Linked DNA regions of Homo sapiens: all the other regions are linked to region 5. Evidence: promoter capture Hi-C in 16 types of primary human blood cells and fetal thymus (Javierre and others, 2016). All regions are on one chromosome and are shown on one strand. The core of a region is centred on a gene start or on the middle of the fragment in contact, and the rest is flanking DNA. Distances in the headings are between cores, read along the strand shown.

Region 1 (4,059 bases), core at 1,191-3,690, 450 kb before region 5:
AAAAAACCCCAGACAATATCCTTTTTCTCTTCAGTGTTGATCCTTATTATAGATTAACTTCCCTCTTCCCTTACAAAAAGACCTTATGACTTTCACATTGTTTAAGATGGAATGTTAAATATACTCTTTTAAATTGGAAAAGGAAAACAGCTGTAACTAATCAAATTGCTGTAACTATAAATCACGCTTGTATGAAAAATGTAGTATAGTAATCTGGATAAATTTCTTTGTTTTCTGCCTATATAAGCAAGATCTTAACTTTGCAACTTTGGAGCACTGACCCCATTCCTTTGGAGTATTTGCTACCTGAATGGCTATTCTCAGATTTGCACTTGAATAAATTCTTCTAAGCTGGATTCTGATCCTTTTAATTATTTCAGGTTGACAGATGCATAGGGTGAGGGACAGGAAGTGGCATAGAGCTTCCATGCTCTTCCCAGGGGTGCTACTCTTCAGGAAACTTCATGTGTTTGGCTATCCAGAAGCTCTCCCAACCCTGTCTTCTTTGGGTTTTTATGAAGGATTTATCACAAAGGCATGACTGATCAAACCACTGACCATTGGTGATCAATTTAACCCTCAGTCTCTCGCTTCAACCTAGATTTTGTGGGGTGGGGCTAAAAGTTCCAACCCACTAATTATACCTTGGATTTTTTCAGGGACAAGCCTCTATCCTGAAGCTACCTAGAGGCTGCCGGCCACCATTTACACACATTAACATACATAAAAATATCACTGGAGATTCTAAGAATTTTAGGAATTGTATGTCAGAAAAATGGGGTCAAAGACCAAATATGTATTCTACAATATCACAGAATGCCTCTATCAATGAGAGACAAATAAACTAAGATTGCCAGAATTATGCAATGAAGCCTCCTGAAGAACATGCACCTTGCCTGTGTTTGCATCAATGTCCTGAGTGTACAGACCAATGCCTGGCACAGAGCTGGCTGCCCATTATTTTTTCTTGAATGTGAATGAGGATAAGAGGACCTCTTGAGCAAAATTGGTACACAGGAGATGATAAATCTATGCAGCCCTTCATGATGATATGAAGAGTTGGGGAAAGAGCCCTGGTCACAAATTAAGTCTTCTTTTGGCTCTGAAGGATTAAGAAGGTTTATAAAAAAGTTACTCTTACCCTTGAGCTCTGAATTCACATTTGACAAAGAAACATGAGTCAACAGCACTGATATTCAGAATTGTATGCGTTGGTACTGAAACTGTGGCCTTGATAAAAGAAGTTATCTAACTTGAATTAAATGAGAACCAAATATGAGTTAGCATTGAACTTTTAAAAATAATTCATCAATTCAAATCTGAGCAAAACACTTTCTAATGGTATTCTATGATTAAGCAATCCTTTACACAGTCGCCTTAGAGAAGAATTAAAAAGCTTCGGGATATCAGTTTCGATATCAATTTTGATAGAAGCAGACGCTAACTGACAGCATTCTTATAGAACTTTTTCCATATGGTCTCCAGTATGTTTTGTTCCTGCAATTTTTAGAGTCTGGAGTACTTTGGGAAGCTTAGGTGTCATCACCACCCAAGCAAAACGAAATTCTTACAAAATTCACAAAAGAATATATATATATATATAATATATATAATATAAAGAATATATATAATATAAAGAATATATATATAATATAAAGAAAATATATATATTTTGCTAGAGCAATAAATTTACTTTAAAAAAGATGTTAAGGTGTTGAGATAAAAGTCTTGCTGGGGTATTCAGAAGTTTAGTATGTACATACAGGTCTTAGCTTCCTCCAATATAAAATTATCTAATTCTAAATTTTTATTAAGCTTCTCTTTTGACATTGTACACTCTAGGAATAAATACATAAAAACACAAAAATACGTACTTAGGGTTTAGTTGAGAAGATGATGGTAATATGCATTAAGAAATTAGAATATTGTTCTATATATAAGGATTAACAGTTTGTGGGAGAAATTTTAAGTGAGATAGAAATGCTAAGGCATGAAAGATTAGTGAGGGCAAGCGTTTTCACTGAAGTCTTGGAGGAGGTGAATCTTCATCATAATTTTGGTAGACCAAGATAGAAGGGTTGACTATTTTATCAAGGGGGCTGAGTGAAATATCACAGATGGAGATAGTTTACATTGATGTAAATGGCCTGAACGCAGTGGAGGAGAAGAATCTGGGAGTAGGAACAAATATTTAGGTGAGTAAAATAAAACCGTTGATAGAATAACATTCCACAAATAGCAATGACATGCATACCAGCCTCCCCAGTGCTGGTGAGTCAATGGTGGACAAGATAGATGTGATCCCTTTCCTCATGCAGCTTATATTCTAGTTGGGTTCAGCAAACAAAACAAAACAAAAACCCAGTAAGCAAAGAACCAACGGAAGCAAGTTTGTGGTAAGTCATTGTAACAATATCAACAACAACTAGATGCTGCAGCAGTCAGCATTGGAGGTGAAGGACATTTTAGGTAGGGTGGGGAAAGCACCTCCAAGGAGTTGACTTTGAACCAAGACCTAAAGAAAGAAAAAGAGCCAGATAAGGAAAGCAGTGGGTAGGGACAAGGTATCAAAGAATTTGATGGGTTCTACAAACTAACAGAAGTTGAGAGCCTGGAGTAAAGTAAGAAGGGGACACATGGTTCAAGGTGAACTAAAAAGGCATTCAGGAACTAGATCATGTAGGATATTGAGAAGCAGAGGAGAGAATTTAAAATTTGTTTTAAGTGAAATGAATGGGAATTTTTGGAGACCAAATATGACCACACATAATTTATGTTTTTAAAAGTTTCCTTTGTTTTTATGTGTAGGAAATTAGGAGATAATGTTTTTCATAACCACCACCCCCACCATCATCATCATCAAGCTACCTACCATACCATACATGACAGCACTTACCATGTATCACATAATATTCTATGTACTCAGAAAGTGCTGACCCATTAATCCTTATAACAGTCCCATGAAGTAGGTACCATTATTGTCCTCTCAATTTAGAGAGAAAAATAGAAGGGCACTAGGAGGTTAATTATTTTGTCCAGATTTACACAATTAATAAATGAAAAGTCTAAGCTTTGAACTGAGGCAGTTTGTGCTCCTAATCACTGTGGTGTTCTATAAGCAAAAACCAGGAAATAATATAGGCTTGCTGTAGTCTATGAGAAATACATTAGTTTCTTGAACTTGGCAGTTGAACGGACAGGACTTGGTGATAGATTAGACGTTAAATTTCTAGGCAGGGGTGGCAATAATAAGACAGAAGTCCAGAATGATGCCTAAATTTCACAAGCTGGATTACAGGAAACCCTAAAAGTGAGACAGAGGTTTGTGTTGATGAATAGGAATATGGTGAAACATAATAATTTTGAGAAGTGTAGTGACAGAATACGCTTGTTTAAGAAGGATGCATTTGACATGGGGTATAATGAATCAGAATTTTAAAGGAGTGAAGGATATGCCATCTCAATGCATGATAATTGGTAAATTGATTATTTTGAGTTGAAAACCTTGGAAAAATTGTAGTTACAGAAACAAGTAGATGACCTATCTTTTCTTCCACACAGCAAGCCATAAAGATTCCTCTGGGAGGTGTACCCTCACAGAACCAGGGCAAGAAAATAGCCCTTATCATAAGAGACTGGGAACTGGGGGGCTACAATGGACCTGGATAAATATACTTTCCAAAGTACCCCTTATCTTCCAGGAGTTTTATACCCTTCTGTGTATCTCCTTGTGACTACCCTAGAAATTTACCGCTTCTAGTTAGATACCATTTATCCTGTCATTTCTTCTCAAATTTATCATTCTTTGTCTAAGAAGTATAAAAGCATCTTGCTTTGGCTACTCCAGACTTCACTCTCTTGTGAAGATGCCCATGTACATGTAAAACTAATAAACTTTGTATGTTTTTCTCTTATTAATCTGCCTGGTGTTAATTTGGTTTCTAGATTCAGACAAAGAGCCTAGATAAGAGCTAAAGGAGAGATTGGAGGTGATCTCTCTCTCACTCCCCTACCATTACAAAATCTGAGAGTCAAGACGTTTTGGAAGGAGACTGCTGC
Region 2 (3,574 bases), core at 30-2,529, 500 kb before region 5:
TGAAACAAAAATTTATACCAATTCACCCAGATTACTGATATCAAGATTCAGGCTGATGTATTTAAGTGGTTTGCTGATTGAATGTAAAAGCTTTGGCTAAAGGTAAATGTTGGCATTATGAATCATTCTGTAGAGGAGAGTATAGTAAATAAGCAAAACCAAAATGAGCCATTGCTTTGTTTGCCAAGCAGTCACAAAAATGTTGAAAGGCTCATTAGATTTTTACACTCTATCTTTTGCATGAACAAACTGACAACAGATTTATCAGACTTATCGTACTTTTTAATCATCAAGAATTGTATTCCTTTTGACTATGAATTGGAGCAGTAAAAGAGAAGCAGAAATGCCTCAAAATGAAGGCTTACCCTTCACTGATCAAGAACCCAGAAGATAACAGGTGTGGCACAGCTATCACACTAAGTCTGTCCCCTGCCAAAAAAAGGACTTGGAATAGATGGAGAACTGAGAATGGAGTCCAGTGAGCAAAATAAAGGGTCTGGCCTAAGTGTAACTATGAGGAATACAGGGTTCGATTTAATTATTCAATTATAATTTAGGTTGGATAGACTCTGTTTAACCTTCCAACCCCCCGATTGATTCTCTGCTCTTCTCTGCCCTTGGAGAGCCTGTCCATGGAGGATGATTCCCATGGACTCCAGCACCTTGGCTGTACAGTTCTTTGCCCTCTAGCTTTCTGTTGGCTTTAGTCAGTTGAAAATAGAAATATTTCTCCCCTTCCCTTTGAGTACTGTAGTTCTGCAACCCTTTATGACCACCAGGTTGGCTAGAATTGTCTTCCCCTTGCTTACCTCTACATATCCTGTTGTAATGATGGCTTCTGATTGTTGACAGTCCTGGGTCTTATTGGTCCCTACACCTCTGAAAATAGCCCCAACATTAAATTCTCTTCATATCCTTAGCTGAGTTTTTTCTGTTTGTTCTCAGGACCCGGATGAATCTCGAAAGAATAACAACAAACTGTTGAGAAATAACTACTCTTGACAGTTATATAGCTTATATATTAATCATTTAATCTTTAAATATTGCCATTATTATTTAACAGAAAAGGAAATTGAGGCACAGAGAACTTCGATGACTCACTTGAAGCAAATCTGACTAAAAAAAGCCATGTTGTTACTGAGCATGCTGTATTTTGTAAAAAGTTTCAGACAACCTTTTTAAAGCACAGTTTCTTTTTTTTGCATGATGTGTTTTTCTCTTCTAAACAGGCCTGCACTCCTATTTTAAATTATTTTATATTTTTTGAATGGGGGTCAAGTGTGGGCTGTCCTACCTGTCTTTAATTGCATAAATCATCTCATTTTGTTCTACTTATAATGCTTCAAGTTACAGAACTCATAACATTATCACATTTATTACTAGCTAAGAAAGCATTAATCATAGATGGTCATAAAAGCTAGAGAAATTAACCATAAAGTTTGCTGAAAATTGCATTAATCATATGGAATCTAGAAAATGTCAGATTACAAAAATGCTGCTTTCTTGTTAATACAAGTAGAAAAAATTGTGGGAGAGAAAAAGAGATCAAACAAAATTAATGTTATTCTTTAAAACTAGTCTACCCAATTACATTGCACAGATATATGGACTAGGCTCTGTTGTAGGCAATTTATATATGCTATCTTTTTTTTTTTTTCATTTTTGATTTTTTTTTTTTTTTTTTACTTTTCTTTTTTTTTTTATTATACTTTAAGTTTTTAGGGTACATGTGCACATTGTGCAGGTTAGTTACATATGTATACATGTGCCATGCTGGTGCGCTGCACCCACTAACTCGTCATCTAGCATTAGGTATATCTCCCAATGCTATCCCTCCCCCCTCCCCCCACCCCACCACAGTCCCCAGAGTGTGATATTCCCCTTCCTGTGTCCATGTGATCTCATTGTTCAATTCCCACCTATGAGCTATCTTTTTTAACCTTCCCAATGACCCTGCAAGTTATACACAACCATCCATTTCTCATATATGGAAACCGAGATCTCCTAACATTTTCAAGATCACATAGCTATTAAGAAGCAGAGCTGGAATTTTGACAATGTCTGATACTGAAATCCTATTGCGCCTCATTTAAGAAAAATAAATTATCACAAAACTTTGATTTGTAGGTTGGTTAGGTTACATTTCAATTCTTAGTGCTAATATTTGACTTCACTTGAACTATTTGTCCCTTAGGCATAGGCCAGTCCTAGTCAACATCCTTTTGTGGCCTTTGGAGTTGAGGACTCTGCTTCAGAGAAGGCTTATAAAAACTAGCAGTATTGTGTATCAGTAGGAGGTATGCAGTTTTACAGGCCTAAATTTATGAACTATTTGTAGGTCCTTTCAACATTAATATAAAGAGACCTGTGCTTATGACTAAAAATATAAAACACAATGGCTTTAAATGCAGACCTATATTTGTTATGTAGAACCTCATATGTTCTTTCATTTTGATTGTTTTGAAGTATAAAGCTTGCTGGTGGCAATTTACCCCAGTGTGACTATCGGGAGCAGTGAAATCTGCTGGAGAGAAGCCACATGTACATTTTTCTCAGTAAAATGTAAGTGAATTATAGTGCATTTCATTAGATTTTCTTTTATATTTTCATTTCATAATTAAAAACATACCCTTGTATGTACTATAAAGATTCCGTGCTTCATATTTTGAAAAGAATTTTCTAAAGCTAACCCCACTTTCATGACCACTAACAAATGGCCAAAGAAGTGCCTTTAGGGAGAAAATTTGCTAGAGCAGAGGATAATTCGTGGTCTTTATTTTGAAGTAATGTATGATAAGACTGAAAGGTTCTAGATTATGTGGTGTTTCTCTTCTTAACTTTCTGGCTGCTCCTTATTTATGTTCTTATTTTGATTTCATCATGTTCTGTTGACTTCACATCTGGATGATTTCTAAAATTCTGTTCTTGGCTTTTTGCTCTTCTTTTTCCACTTCTTTCTTCATGTTTTTATCATGTCACCAAGTATACATCAAAACTGAGTTCTAGGTCTCATTTTTAAATTCCTGCTACAAGTAGAGACATCTCTTCCATAAGTACATCCAAAATGCCACACTACCTTCCCCCTCTCCAGCTGTCCTTCTATTCTGACTGTTTTGCCACTCAAACATCCTGTTTTACCTCAGGCACTCAGACCTGAGAACTTGGAATCCAGCTTAATCCTTGCCTTTAATTCTCTCTCCCATATGGTTATTCACAGAGTCCTATAAGTTATTCATTACTCTAGATTGGTTTCTGCCTTTCCCTCTTCTCTGCTTCTATTCTAATTTAGGGATCTGCAACCTTGTAGTTATATAGGAAGACTTTTTTTTCTTATTTTGCATATCATTTAGGACTAGAAACCCTAATTAGGATCATAAATAAATAACCTATTGTAGCTCTTGCATGGTCTTTGTACATCTACTCTCTCTAATCTCAACTCCCTTATTTGTGCTCTCTTAACATTTTATGAATAATCCCTTCTAGCAGTTGCCACATATTTTGTAGTGGTAGAAATAGGGGTGACAAGGTGGGTTGGGGAGCCCTTTAAACTCTCCTACCCATCACAGTGAGCTCT
Region 3 (3,673 bases), core at 822-3,321, 430 kb before region 5:
CTTTTGCTCTGCAGCCAGAACTGTGCTCAGCAAGCCTGCCACTCGTGTATGGGTCTGCCTTCTCCATATGGCTGTCCTCAGTACTGGGCTTCAGGAGGGTTTCACAATCTACCTGGATTCAAAAGCTCCCACACAGGCACTTTTGCCTCTGATGGCTGTAGTTTGTCATTCGTGTGGGGAGAACATGAGCTGGGAATCTTCCATTATCTTGCTAAAGTCACTCTGAGAATATATTCTTTAATCCTTAACACATTAGCACCACTGACCAGTTTTGGGCACAGTCTTTGTCATGGGTGTGAATAATCCAGCTTTGTTCCTTGGTTAAGTCTCAACTCCTTTACTCTCATTTACCATCATTCTATTGCTTACTCATTCTCAAAATTTTTATATGATTTGTATTTGTGTCTAAACAGAATGGTCAGTGCTTCAGCAGAGTCCTAACATGCTTGCAGTCCCACATAGAGCAGAAAGAATGGTTTGGCACACCTTTTCCAAGAGGTTGCAACCTGGTTATTAGAAGATCATGGCTCCCTTACTAGGATTTATTCTCGGGAGGTACTCATTATGCTTGCAAATTATGTAACCCCCCCTAGATTACTAGTGCCATTTGCTGTCATTTTCTGTATTTACATTACAAAATTATGCTCCAGAGGCTGTTTATTTACTTGGAGGACCATGGTCTGCAATTTAGGTAAATTGCCACCCTAAAATTTGGGTAAGTTGGTGGTGTTCAGGCTATGACTACTGGTTTTAAACAGCTGTACTTATTACCAGGTAGGAAGGAGACCACAGCTGTGATGGGAACATGTTGACTCTGTCTCAGGATGGAGTCTATCCAGTGTCCCAAATTACTTGGTAGGTGGGTTCCAGAGGTGTGGAATGTCTGCAGTTAATGTGTTTTCCAACACAGGTATATGTTTTCTCTTTGAAACACGAGCTCTATTTAAATAGCCAAATATAAAAATAGCTAGCATTTAAAAGATACATTTTAAGGGATACTATATGTCCTAGAGTAAACTTTTCAACTGTTTTAAATCACTGCTTAATGTAATCATGACTTTCTCATGGTTTAAGTAAATTCATTTATCTTGAAGTTTTCTTGACACTTTGTTAGAGTTTCTTGGATATTACAAAGATGAAGTATCTAGCATATTCTTTTCTTCTTTGATTTCTCTTTGGAGTTGCCCATAGCGTTTGGATATTAAGCAACTTTGCTTCTGTTGTTTTTTCTTTTATGCTGATGAAGAGAAAATAATATGTGAATCTCATAGTTCACAAAGGCTTTCTCCTGCATCAGAAAATAATAAGTAACTTGCATTTTTCTGGCCTAACTCTTCTGTGACCAAGATCATGCTGAGTTTACATAAGCTTCCTCAATATGCCTGTGAAAAGTCTTGTAGTATATAACAAACAAATAAACCCTGTACTGCCCCCTTTCTACATATTTTGCTCACTTATTTATTGTTTCAGGTGGGAGGATAAATACAGTTTCTGTTACTTCATCTTGTCCATACCTGGAAGTTCACGTTCTCTTTTTATTTAATCTAAATCAGGCTTTTGTCTCTACCAGTCCACTGTAACTATTTCAAAGATTCAATGAGCTTCACTTTGCCAAATCCAGTGATTAGCTCTCAGTCCTCATTTAATTTGATCCATGAGCAAACCTGACCCATGACAAGTTTTTGTCTAGCTTGTCTAACTTGACCCATGACAAGTTTGATTATTCTCTCTGCTTTAAAAATGTTCTCTGCTTGGTTTTTAGGATATCATATTTTCCTGTTTTTCTCCATAGCCCAGTGGCCACTTCTTTTTAAACTTCTTTACTGGTTCCACTTCATCTTCTTGACCTCTAATGTTGAATTGCCTCTGAGCTTTGTCCTCACTTCTTTTCTCATTTCTCTTCTTGCTCTGTAGGTCTATTGTGTTAGGCCCAATGCCCCTTCGTATAGTCAATATTTTGTGACTCTCTCTTTAACATTCTGAAATTAAGGTCATGGATAATTTGATCTATCTATATAGGTACTTTCAAAAGAAGCTCTGATTCTTAAATGAAGTTGAGAAAAAACCAAAATATATAATAAAATTATATGATTCAATTGTAAATTCTCAAGGACAATTATATTAGAGGACATAATAAAATATTCAGATGCTTGTACCCATTCTAATAAATGCAAGCTAATAAAGTCTGTTGTGCTGTTAGCTCAAAACCATGTGTTACCTGCTATTGGTGACATGGTTTTCCAAAATTGGGATCAATGGTAATTTGCTGAATAAAATAAAATTTAATCTTCTGTTGATATTCATAGTAGTTGCATTTATGGAAGAAAATAAATATGCAGTAAACCTGTACAAAAATTTTTCGTGTATATAAGTGTATTAGTCTGTTCTCACACTGCTCATAAAGACATATCTGAGACTGGGTAATTTATAAAAAAAGAGGTTTAATTGACTCATAGTTCCATATGGCTGGGGAGGCCTCACCATCATGGTGGAAGGCAAAAGAGGAGCAAAGTCACATCTTACATGGCAGCAGGCCAGAGAGCATGTGCAGGGGATCTCCGCTTTATAAAACCATCAGGTCTTGTGAGACTTATTTACTATCATGAGAACAGCACAGGAATCACCCACCCCACGATTCAATTACCTCACACTGGGTCCTTCTCATGACGTGGGAATTATGGGAGCTACCATTCAAGATGAGATTTGGATGGGAACACAGCCAAACTATATCAATATCTAATTATGATTTGGATCTAGGAGCAAATAATTACAAACAAGCTTTCTGCTTATATGGCATTTCAAAGTCGAGTAATCCTTGTCATCCACTAAATTTCAGGAGCACTCTTTAAATAGTTTAAGATCCTAAAACTTCTCCACAAATTTCCAACATCCACTAAGGATGCAAATACTCCAATTATAAAACATAGCCCCCTATATGCTGATGACTTCAAAATGTGTATTTCCAGCTCTCAACTGTTTGTTGAATTCCAGATTAGAATATCCACCTGATCACTGAAAATCTCCAATTGATCTTTAATTGACATCTCAAGATTAATAAATTGGAAATCGATCTTTTGATTTCATTCCCTAAATATGCTTTTCCTATAGATTTCCCCAACTCTGAAACAGCATCACCATATATCCAGTTGCTCAAGGCAAAAACCATGGAATCATCTTTAATTCATCTCTTTCTCTCACATCTCACCTCATCAACAGCCTATTTTTTTCCACACTCAAAATATGAATTGGCTCTACCTCAGAGCCATTATGTTTTGTGTGCACTATTGCATTTTTCTCCTACTTGCACTCTGTAATTCCATTATTGCCCTAATGAAGCCTATTTTTTTCATTGTACAGCCAGAGTGATGTTTTTTTAAATGTATAGCATTTTGTTTCTTCCTTTCAGCTCTTCATTTCCTGCTTCCAAATACACTTGGAATAAAATTTCCTACTAGGCCCTATCTGATCTCTCTTTTTTGTCCATTTCTATGAATGCCCTTTACACCACTTTCCCCATTCTTCACTGAGCTTCCACCATATTGGATTCATTGATGTTGTACAAACATGCCAAGTCCACTCCCTTCTTAGGGTCCTTGCCTTTTCTGTTCACACTCACTGAAATAGCATTCTAAGGAAAAGTCACATGGCCTTCTCTAATGGTCACATCCAGAGA
Region 4 (3,991 bases), core at 61-2,560, 470 kb before region 5:
TTTCTCTGGACCTCTGGTTTTCTTATACATTTAGAGTGGAGTCTGATCTTAAGCTACTTCTGCTATCTGGCTGTAGTAGATGAGAATCTCTTTATATGCCTCCAAGGAGGCCCTTGGTCTTTTATACTTTGCCTTAAATTTGAGATTAATACCCCTCAGTGCCATTAAATTCCTGCAATGCATCAGTGGTAGCCAGCAACAGCTATCTGATTCTATAGTTCTTATAACTACTTTTTCCCCTAAGCCTTTCAAATATCTAAGATACTGAACCTCCTAGTGTTTTCTGACACACTGAAGTCTTCTCTCAATTTACCACAGGTAAAAGTTTTATTAATTTCACCACTATCGCATGCCAGGAATGATCAGTCTTACAGTTATCACCAGCAAAGGGATGCTTATTATCAGCTCTCCAAAATTCCATTCTATAATTTGCTGCCTGGGACCATATGTAGTACCAGCTATCTGAAGTTGGATTCCCCGGGAAATTACCTGAGTTGGAGATGGGAGGATATTGGGCAACACTTTTGGATGCAACAGTTAGAATGGAGGCAGGGAAGCAGAATTGGGCTGAGGGAGGAGTTGACCTCTATTACAGTTGCAGCAAACTTCAGTGGAATCCTTAGGATACTTTGCAACTAGGATGGTCTTTCAGCATTGTTCAAAATTGAGGCAAGAGGGCCCAGCCTCTGTATCTCTAAAGTGATCAGCAGATGGAGGCTGTTTCTTGGAAATAAGTTGCCAGTCAGATTTCTGCAGGTAATTCATTGAGAGGGACTCAGCTGTGAGCCATTCAGAACACCAGCTGTGAGAATAAAGACTTCGGTCTTATCTGATCAGGGCAATACAGGAACCCCTATAAAATGATACATACTAATGCAGTTTATGGTCAATTGTACCCCCTATTAGTTTCATTTCCCATAAAGAACAAATCAAATGTGGAATTACTGAGTAATATGCCTTGAAAGAAACTTAACATCACATCAAGTTCAATACTCTTGGTTTTTAGGTAAAAACCCAGAGGTGCCATTAAGTTCTTTGCTCAGGGGCACAGTGTATGCTGATGTTGGGTCTGGAAGTCAGGTTTTCTGCCTGCAGCCTGGTGCTCTTTCACTTTTAGATTCTTTTTTTTATTATTATTATACTTTAAGTTTTAGGGTACATGTGCACATTGTGCAGGTTAGTTACATATGTATACATGTGCCATGCTGGTGGGCTGCACCCACTAACTCGTCATCTAGCATTAGGTATATCTCCCGATGCTATCCCTCCCCCCTCCCCCGCCCACAACAGTCCCCAGAGTGTGATATTCCCCTTCCTGTGTCCATGTGATCTCATTGTTCAATTCCCACCTATGAGTGAGAATATGCGGTGTTTGGTTTTTTGTTCTTGCGATAGTTTACTGAGAATGATGATTTCCAATTTCATCCATGTCCCTACAAAGGACATGAACTCATCATTTTTTATGGCTGCATAGTATTCCATGGTGTATATGTGCCACATTTTCTTAATCCAGTCTCTCATTGTTGGACACAACAGGTGCTGGAGAGGATGTGGAGAAATAGGAACACTTTTACGCTGTTGGTGGGACTGTAAACTAGTTCAACCATTGTGGAAGTCAGTGTGGCGATTCCTCAGGGATCTAGAACTGGAAATACCATTTGACCCAGCCATCCCATTACTGGGTATATACCCAAAGGACTATAAATCATGCTGCTATAAAGACACTTTTGGATTCTTTTAAGTGCTAGAGAACTATAATATAAACTGCTTTACACGTTTGAAACTATTAAAATGTAGTCCCCACTGTAACATGCTATGGTGTCAACCTCTTCTCTATAGTTTACCCCCAAGGACTATTTATTCTTTCTCCCTCATTTTCTAGAGTCATTTTACTTTTTGTAGGACCAAGATATTAAATATTAAATAGATTGAGGTTTTAAGCTCCAGCAGGAGATTGATGTTTATATATATTGTACTTTTTTGCTGAAAATTTTTGGCGCAAAGTTGCTTTTTTATTGCCTGAATTTAAAAACAAAAAGTAACTAGATAAAAGTGAAGGATCAACAGCAAATTGCACAGGTTCTCTTCCTTTGACGGTGATTCTTTCTGGGACTGTCACAAGGTTGGACATTAGGCAAATTCCAGTTAAAGCATGCTCCTCCCAGAGAGTACACTTGTTTCACCTAAGAGGCTGTTTTAAATCTACCTGCTATCAACAGAGGGGATTTTTTTCATGAGCTGGGAAAGGCTTCAGATCCTTGACCTCACTGCCTGTTATTTCTCTTATTAGTTTAGTCTTTCCTGAAAGAAAGAACTCCCTCTGAAATGCAATTTCTGGTTTTTGGCTGAAATGGTTCCAATTTAACAGTTTTCAATTTGACAGTTCAGTTCAGTAATCCTTTACTAAGCATTTATAATGTATGAGGTATTGGACTACATCTAGCCAAAGATTTAAAGAAATAATTACACTATCAAGTAATGTGTGTTACAAAGGTGTGCACAGGAGCTGTAGGTTCACAGAGGAAGTTCAGGAATAACTTTTCTGTAACTGAGGCATTAGACAAAAAGCCGTACTATTGCCCTCAGAAGGCTGCAGTTAACACATGCATGGAGTGGTCATCTAGTTCCCCTAATTAGCATACTAAGCAGGAATGATTTACAAGGCTAGCTAGCAAATACTTTGGACCATGAAGTAGAGGAATAGAGAAGGTGAATTTCTGTGCAATGCTGTGGGAATCAGGGAGCAGAGGGTTGAGTAAAGCAGGTACATGGCAGAGATAAGCTTTTGTTGGTGAGGAGAAACAAATTGAATAAATAAATACGACCATCTGCTTTAGATGGCAATCCATCTGAGCTGCGGGAATAGTCTAAAAGTGAGGAGAGAGTCCTGGAATGAAGGATAAACTTGCCCATGTTGCTTTTTTTTTATCTGAGGCAAGCCCTGCTTAGTTTAATTTGACAATTTCCTGGCACGTATGTTATGTAACATTACCTAAATCACCTTTGGAGTTTGGAGAAAATGTTAATGTCTTGTTAAAATTATAATTATTGTGTGTTTAGCATGCCTTTCTATAGAGACTGCTTTTAATTAGGATGGTGTTCCAGTTTGTCAAACAGACATTTAAAATATCCTGCTATTACAATATTTACATTTCTGTTTGAAATGGTATCAAATGTCAACTTCATTTCCCAGGAAATCAGAAAATTTAAAATTTTTATTTTAAAATGGAATAGTATTTTAGAACACGTTATCCATCGTAAACTGTAGATGGAGTTCTGTTTGCTTTTGTCAGAGTAGGTAATTTCCTTTCTTTGGGGGAATGTAGGGGTGAGGAAAAGGGAGAAAGAGAGAGAGGCAGGAGATAGCTCTGTGTCTCTCACAATGTAATTTCCTTTCTTTGGGGGAATGTGGGGGTGAGAAAAAGGGAGAAGGAGATAGAGGAAGGAAATAGCTCTGAGTCTCTCACCATGTATCTGCTCCTTGCTTTCCACACTCAGCTTCATTATTTTTTACCTTTTCCTCATTTTTTTTAAATTTTGAAAAATTCTAAAGAGCACCTGAATACCTTCTCCTAGACTTTCAAATTCTTGACATTTTGAATGTTTGCTTTATGCACATGCACAGCTTCTGTGCTCTCTCTCTTTCTTGCTCTCTCTCTGTCTTAGTTTTCTTTGAGTATCATTATGGACTCACAGATTTTAAAAAATATTCAGTGTGTTATCCATTACTATCATAGCAAGTTTTTATGCTTCAAAGAATTACAAACAATATGCATGTATACACTTACATAAACACACAGGTACATTTTTCTAGATCATTTGGATATTGAACATATCATGATACTTCACTTACTTCAGGCAACTCCTAAATATCAGGGCATTCTCTTATCTAACTGCGATATAACTGTAATATCATGATTACAAGTATAAAAATTAGTGTGAATTAAATATTTAATACCTAGTCCATATTTAAATTAACCCAATTGCTCCC
Region 5 (3,634 bases), core at 295-2,794:
TTTTAAAAATCTAATTCTCCCTACCTCAGAGAACTCAAGCATATTACTTATTTCACACTTTTAATCATTTCTTCTCTTTTTCTTTTCTCCAGTTTGCATGCTGCAGACTTGTTCTTATAATCTCTTCTTAAGTCTTTCCAGCAGCATCTGCTTTTCACCTTTTCTCATTTCTTCCCCTGATTTTTCAATGCAGTTTTCAATGGTTTTCTTTTGACACCACTTTCAAATTTCAATTTTTTCTTCTGTTCTCTTTCTTCCTCTATATTCCACATATGACTTCCAAAGGTTTTGTAAAGATGAATTGTCCAGGATTAAGAGAGTGATTGATTAAGAGCCTACAGAACTGGGAAGAGGAGAGCTGCCAAGCTTTTCTTTATGTGTAGCACAGTGGAGCTACCCAGAGTGTGAGAAGCAAGAAACAGAGAGCCTTGCTAAGGCACGACGAAAAGGGGAAGCCTATTAAAAGAATGATCTGGAGGAGTGTGCAGTGAAGAAAATAAAGTAGAGCCAGCCTGCTGGGTCAGTAGCTAATAGCCCATGGGTTTACAACTAAGGAAGTTAAAATTCTAGCTAATGAGAATTGTAGACACCTACTGAGAGTGAACCGAAGGCTTCCTATTAACTTCCCTTCTTGGGTCTTTTTGACAGAACAGTCAGAAAGTTGTTTCCTATTTGTTTAGTAGCAAAAGAGTTGAAATGGAGGTTTAAAAAATGATGAAAGAGAAGTTGGAGGCAATCTCTTACTCAGCTCCTTCACGAGGTCCAAATACGATGTCTCCCCCACTCCACTCAAAATGTAAATCAGCATAGGTCACAAAAAGAGGAAGGACAGTTAAAAAAAAAAAAAAGAGTTGGGCCAAATAAGACATACAGCCAAGATGACTGAGACAATCAGAGAGGATTTGGGGTGTGGGGACTTCAAATTAATAAATCCGGTATTAGCTTTGTGGAATTAGCAGGATTAGGGTACCTCTTTCAAGAACACTGGTTGAATTTCATGGTTTCAATAGATGACCATTAGCTGTTATGTGCACCCCCCCCCCCCTTTTTTCTTGCAGAAGTTAAGAAGTCTGCTTAACTCGCAGGTCACCAAGAGATTGATTAAAGGCCTCTGGACATCATTTGGGTTTGGATAAATCTGTAGGGCCACTTTACAGACTGTCTCCAACTCCTGATCCCACTGTGGTTCTTTCTGAATTGATCCAGGTCCCTGCTAGCAAGTGAAGCAGAAAGAATCCAGGCTAGTTGTGAGATGACATACAGCAAGCAGGCTGAGATGATGGGGACATTTCAGAACCAAGAGGAGGGGGCGGGCAGGACACGGACTTGTCTCCCCCACCTTGATGCCAAGGTGGCATCTGGGAGATATCTCGAAGGGCAACGTCGAGGGGACTGCAAGCGTCAACCCTGGCGCGGCAGCACGGCGCCCCTCTCCGCGGGCGGGGAGCGAGCGCGTGTGCGCGAGAGCGCCGGGCGGCGGCGGGAGGAGGCGCAGGCGCGCTGCTCGCCCGTCTGCAGCCCCGAGCCGAGCGCCGCGTCTCGGGAGTTGATGGCAGCACCACTGTGCGGCCGCCCGGCCGAGCGCGGAGCGCAGCCACTCGCCGCTGCCCAGGGAGCGCCCAAGATGTGGGGGGACCGGGGCGGCAGCGGCCGTAGCAGCGCCAGGGACGGGGGCACGCAGCAGCCTCCGCTCGCCCGCCTGTCCTGACCTGCCTCGCTTGCCCCCAAAGAATGTCAGCCAAGTCCAAGGGGAACCCCTCCTCGTCCTGTCCAGCCGAGGGACCGCCGGCAGCCTCCAAAACCAAGGTGAAGGAACAGATCAAGATCATCGTGGAGGATTTGGAATTAGTCCTGGGCGACCTGAAGGACGTGGCCAAGGAACTTAAGGAGGTGAGAGGCGCAGGGGTGGGGAGGGAGTTCGGCACCCTTCGACCCCTCCGGGGTCCCCTTTCCGATTTTCAGCAGGGACAGCCAGATTTCCAAACTCCTGGGAAACTACAGAAAAGGCGCCTGCAGACGGACTTTCTTTGCTCCTGGAGTCCTGAGAGGAGTTGTTGTTGCACTTTTTAATTTTTTTTTTTAATCAGGAAGAAATCAACTAGTGTTTTAATCGATGGACCTGGGCTGGTGGGAGGGATGAACGCACGCGTGTCTCTGAATCTGTGTGTGTGACGACGGGGGAGAGGGTTAGCTGGGGGTGTGTCGGCAGAGGAAGTCGTGAGCAGCCCGGCTGGAGCGTGCAAGATGCTCCTCTCCTGCCCTATTGCTTCCCCAGAGTCCTTTGGCAAGTCCGCTGCCTATCTGTCAGCCTCCCCAAGTCAGGGCTGAAGAGGGGCCGGGTTCTGGGCCCTGGGCCAGATCAGGGAGGGCAGCCTGGAGGAAGCTTGGCTCAGACTACCCTCCCTGTCTCTCGAGCCTCGCTGTAGGGAAGGCGACCCGGGCTGCTGGCAGCCTTGGGGCTAAGGAGGGGGTCTGGGACTTTCTCACTTTCTCAGTTTCTGAAGCATCCCCTGCTCTCCTCCGAACGTCGTTACCAGTAACTCTGGGCCTTCCCGCCACCCTACCTCTGCTTCCTTCCTTCCACCCTGTCGCCACTTGGCATTGAACCCGAGAAGCAGGACGCGCAGGAGAGTGTATGTGTGGCCGGGGTCTTGCCATTGGCGTCCTGGCTCTCTGCAGCTGGGACTGCTTCGGTTCTTCCCCGCTTTTCCTATCCCACTTCGGTTCAGCCCTACTCCCGCCCGCCCCTAGCCCCAGGTGATCCAGATGGAAAGAAGCAGAGAAGGTGTCAGGGCTGAGGCTGCGTAACTCAGGCGGCGGCTCCGGGCGGGGGCGGGGGCCGGGCTGGGAGGGGTGGGGTCTCCCGAGCCAGGCTGGCTGCCGGCGGCGTCGCGGAGCTGGTAGCAGAGTCCCAGCGCGCCGCTCACTACTGAATGGGGTCCTGGTGCGGTTCTCGGTGAGGGAGTCCGCAGCTCCGCTGCGTGAGAGCTAAGACTAGAACTTCGAAGGTGGCGGTGGCTGCAGCGGGAAAAGGGGTGGGGCGTAGTCTAGGTCCAAAATTGTAATCCTGTTTCTGAAGCCAACGGGGAGGAGACTGAGGGTTGTTTGGATGACTGGCCTCTAGAGATTAACCTCCTGTATTCAATTTCCAAACCAAATTTCAAGAGCCCCCTCGTCTTCCTCCCCTTCCCCCGTTACCTCTATGAACTGAACTCTGCATTTGTTACCTAATGCAAGTCTGTTAAAATGGGCCATTCGTCACCAGGGTTAAGTTTGCCAGTGGTAAATGTCGTTCCTGTAGGTTACTCCACAGACAGAACATAATTAGTACTGAGGTCCTGAGAGTGGCTGTTAGTATACATAGATTCAGGGATAAAACTTGTTCGTGTTTTCAGGGTTTCTGTAGGATTATTGCTTCACAACTGGTTGACAGATGGTGGGGTTATGCATTGAAATTCAATTCTAAAAATGCTGTCCCTTTCTTTGTTATTCTTTTATATGACATCTTTGGTAGACTGTGTTTTCATCTGAAACATGGCGTTTTAAAAAATGAAATTGGGCATGTTCCTTTCGGCAGAATTGTGCTTAATAGTTGGTGAGGTTTCTATGGGCGATGTGGAAAACCTACAGCGGC

Evidence for each region. Contacts are between HindIII fragments. The CHiCAGO score rates a contact against its expected background, and 5 or more counts as called.
Region 1: a contact is called between a fragment that was not itself captured here and the fragment with the promoter of PRR16 in region 5, in 4 of 17 cell types (M1 macrophages, M2 macrophages, monocytes and 1 more). The highest score is 6.8, in M1 macrophages.
Region 2: a fragment that was not itself captured here is called in contact with the fragment with the promoter of PRR16 in region 5 in 2 of 17 cell types (M2 macrophages and M1 macrophages); the score reaches 7.3 in M2 macrophages.
Region 3: a contact is called between a fragment that was not itself captured here and the fragment with the promoter of PRR16 in region 5, in 3 of 17 cell types (monocytes, M1 macrophages and M2 macrophages). The highest score is 7.9, in monocytes.
Region 4: a fragment that was not itself captured here is called in contact with the fragment with the promoter of PRR16 in region 5 in 2 of 17 cell types (M0 macrophages and M2 macrophages); the score reaches 5.8 in M0 macrophages.

Annotation. Positions count from the first base shown.
Region 1 is chr5:120,012,493-120,016,551 of GRCh38, forward strand. It overlaps LOC124901053 (a long non-coding RNA gene), which reads left to right. Exons shown (of 2, transcript XR_007058913.1): 2 at 248-356. Among named protein-coding and RNA genes, the nearest start is that of FAM170A, 380 kb to the left of the region's middle. The HindIII fragment of the contact is 1,255 bases long and covers 1,814-3,068 here.
Region 2 is chr5:119,962,056-119,965,629 of GRCh38, forward strand. It overlaps LOC105379144 (a long non-coding RNA gene), which reads left to right. Exons shown (of 3, transcript XR_948706.2): 2 at 2,467-2,562. Among named protein-coding and RNA genes, the nearest start is that of FAM170A, 330 kb to the left of the region's middle. The HindIII fragment of the contact is 2,383 bases long and covers 89-2,471 here.
Region 3 is chr5:120,030,024-120,033,696 of GRCh38, forward strand. No RefSeq gene overlaps it. Among named protein-coding and RNA genes, the nearest start is that of FAM170A, 400 kb to the left of the region's middle. The HindIII fragment of the contact is 1,410 bases long and covers 1,367-2,776 here.
Region 4 is chr5:119,996,582-120,000,572 of GRCh38, forward strand. No RefSeq gene overlaps it. Among named protein-coding and RNA genes, the nearest start is that of FAM170A, 370 kb to the left of the region's middle. The HindIII fragment of the contact is 2,939 bases long and covers 1-2,780 here.
Region 5 is chr5:120,462,756-120,466,389 of GRCh38, forward strand. It overlaps PRR16 (proline rich 16), which reads left to right and starts at 1,545. Exons shown (of 2, transcript NM_001300783.2): 1 at 1,545-1,890. The coding sequence starts at 1,732. RefSeq lists a silencer at 1,464-1,513 and an enhancer at 1,919-2,420. The HindIII fragment of the contact is 2,017 bases long and covers 365-2,381 here.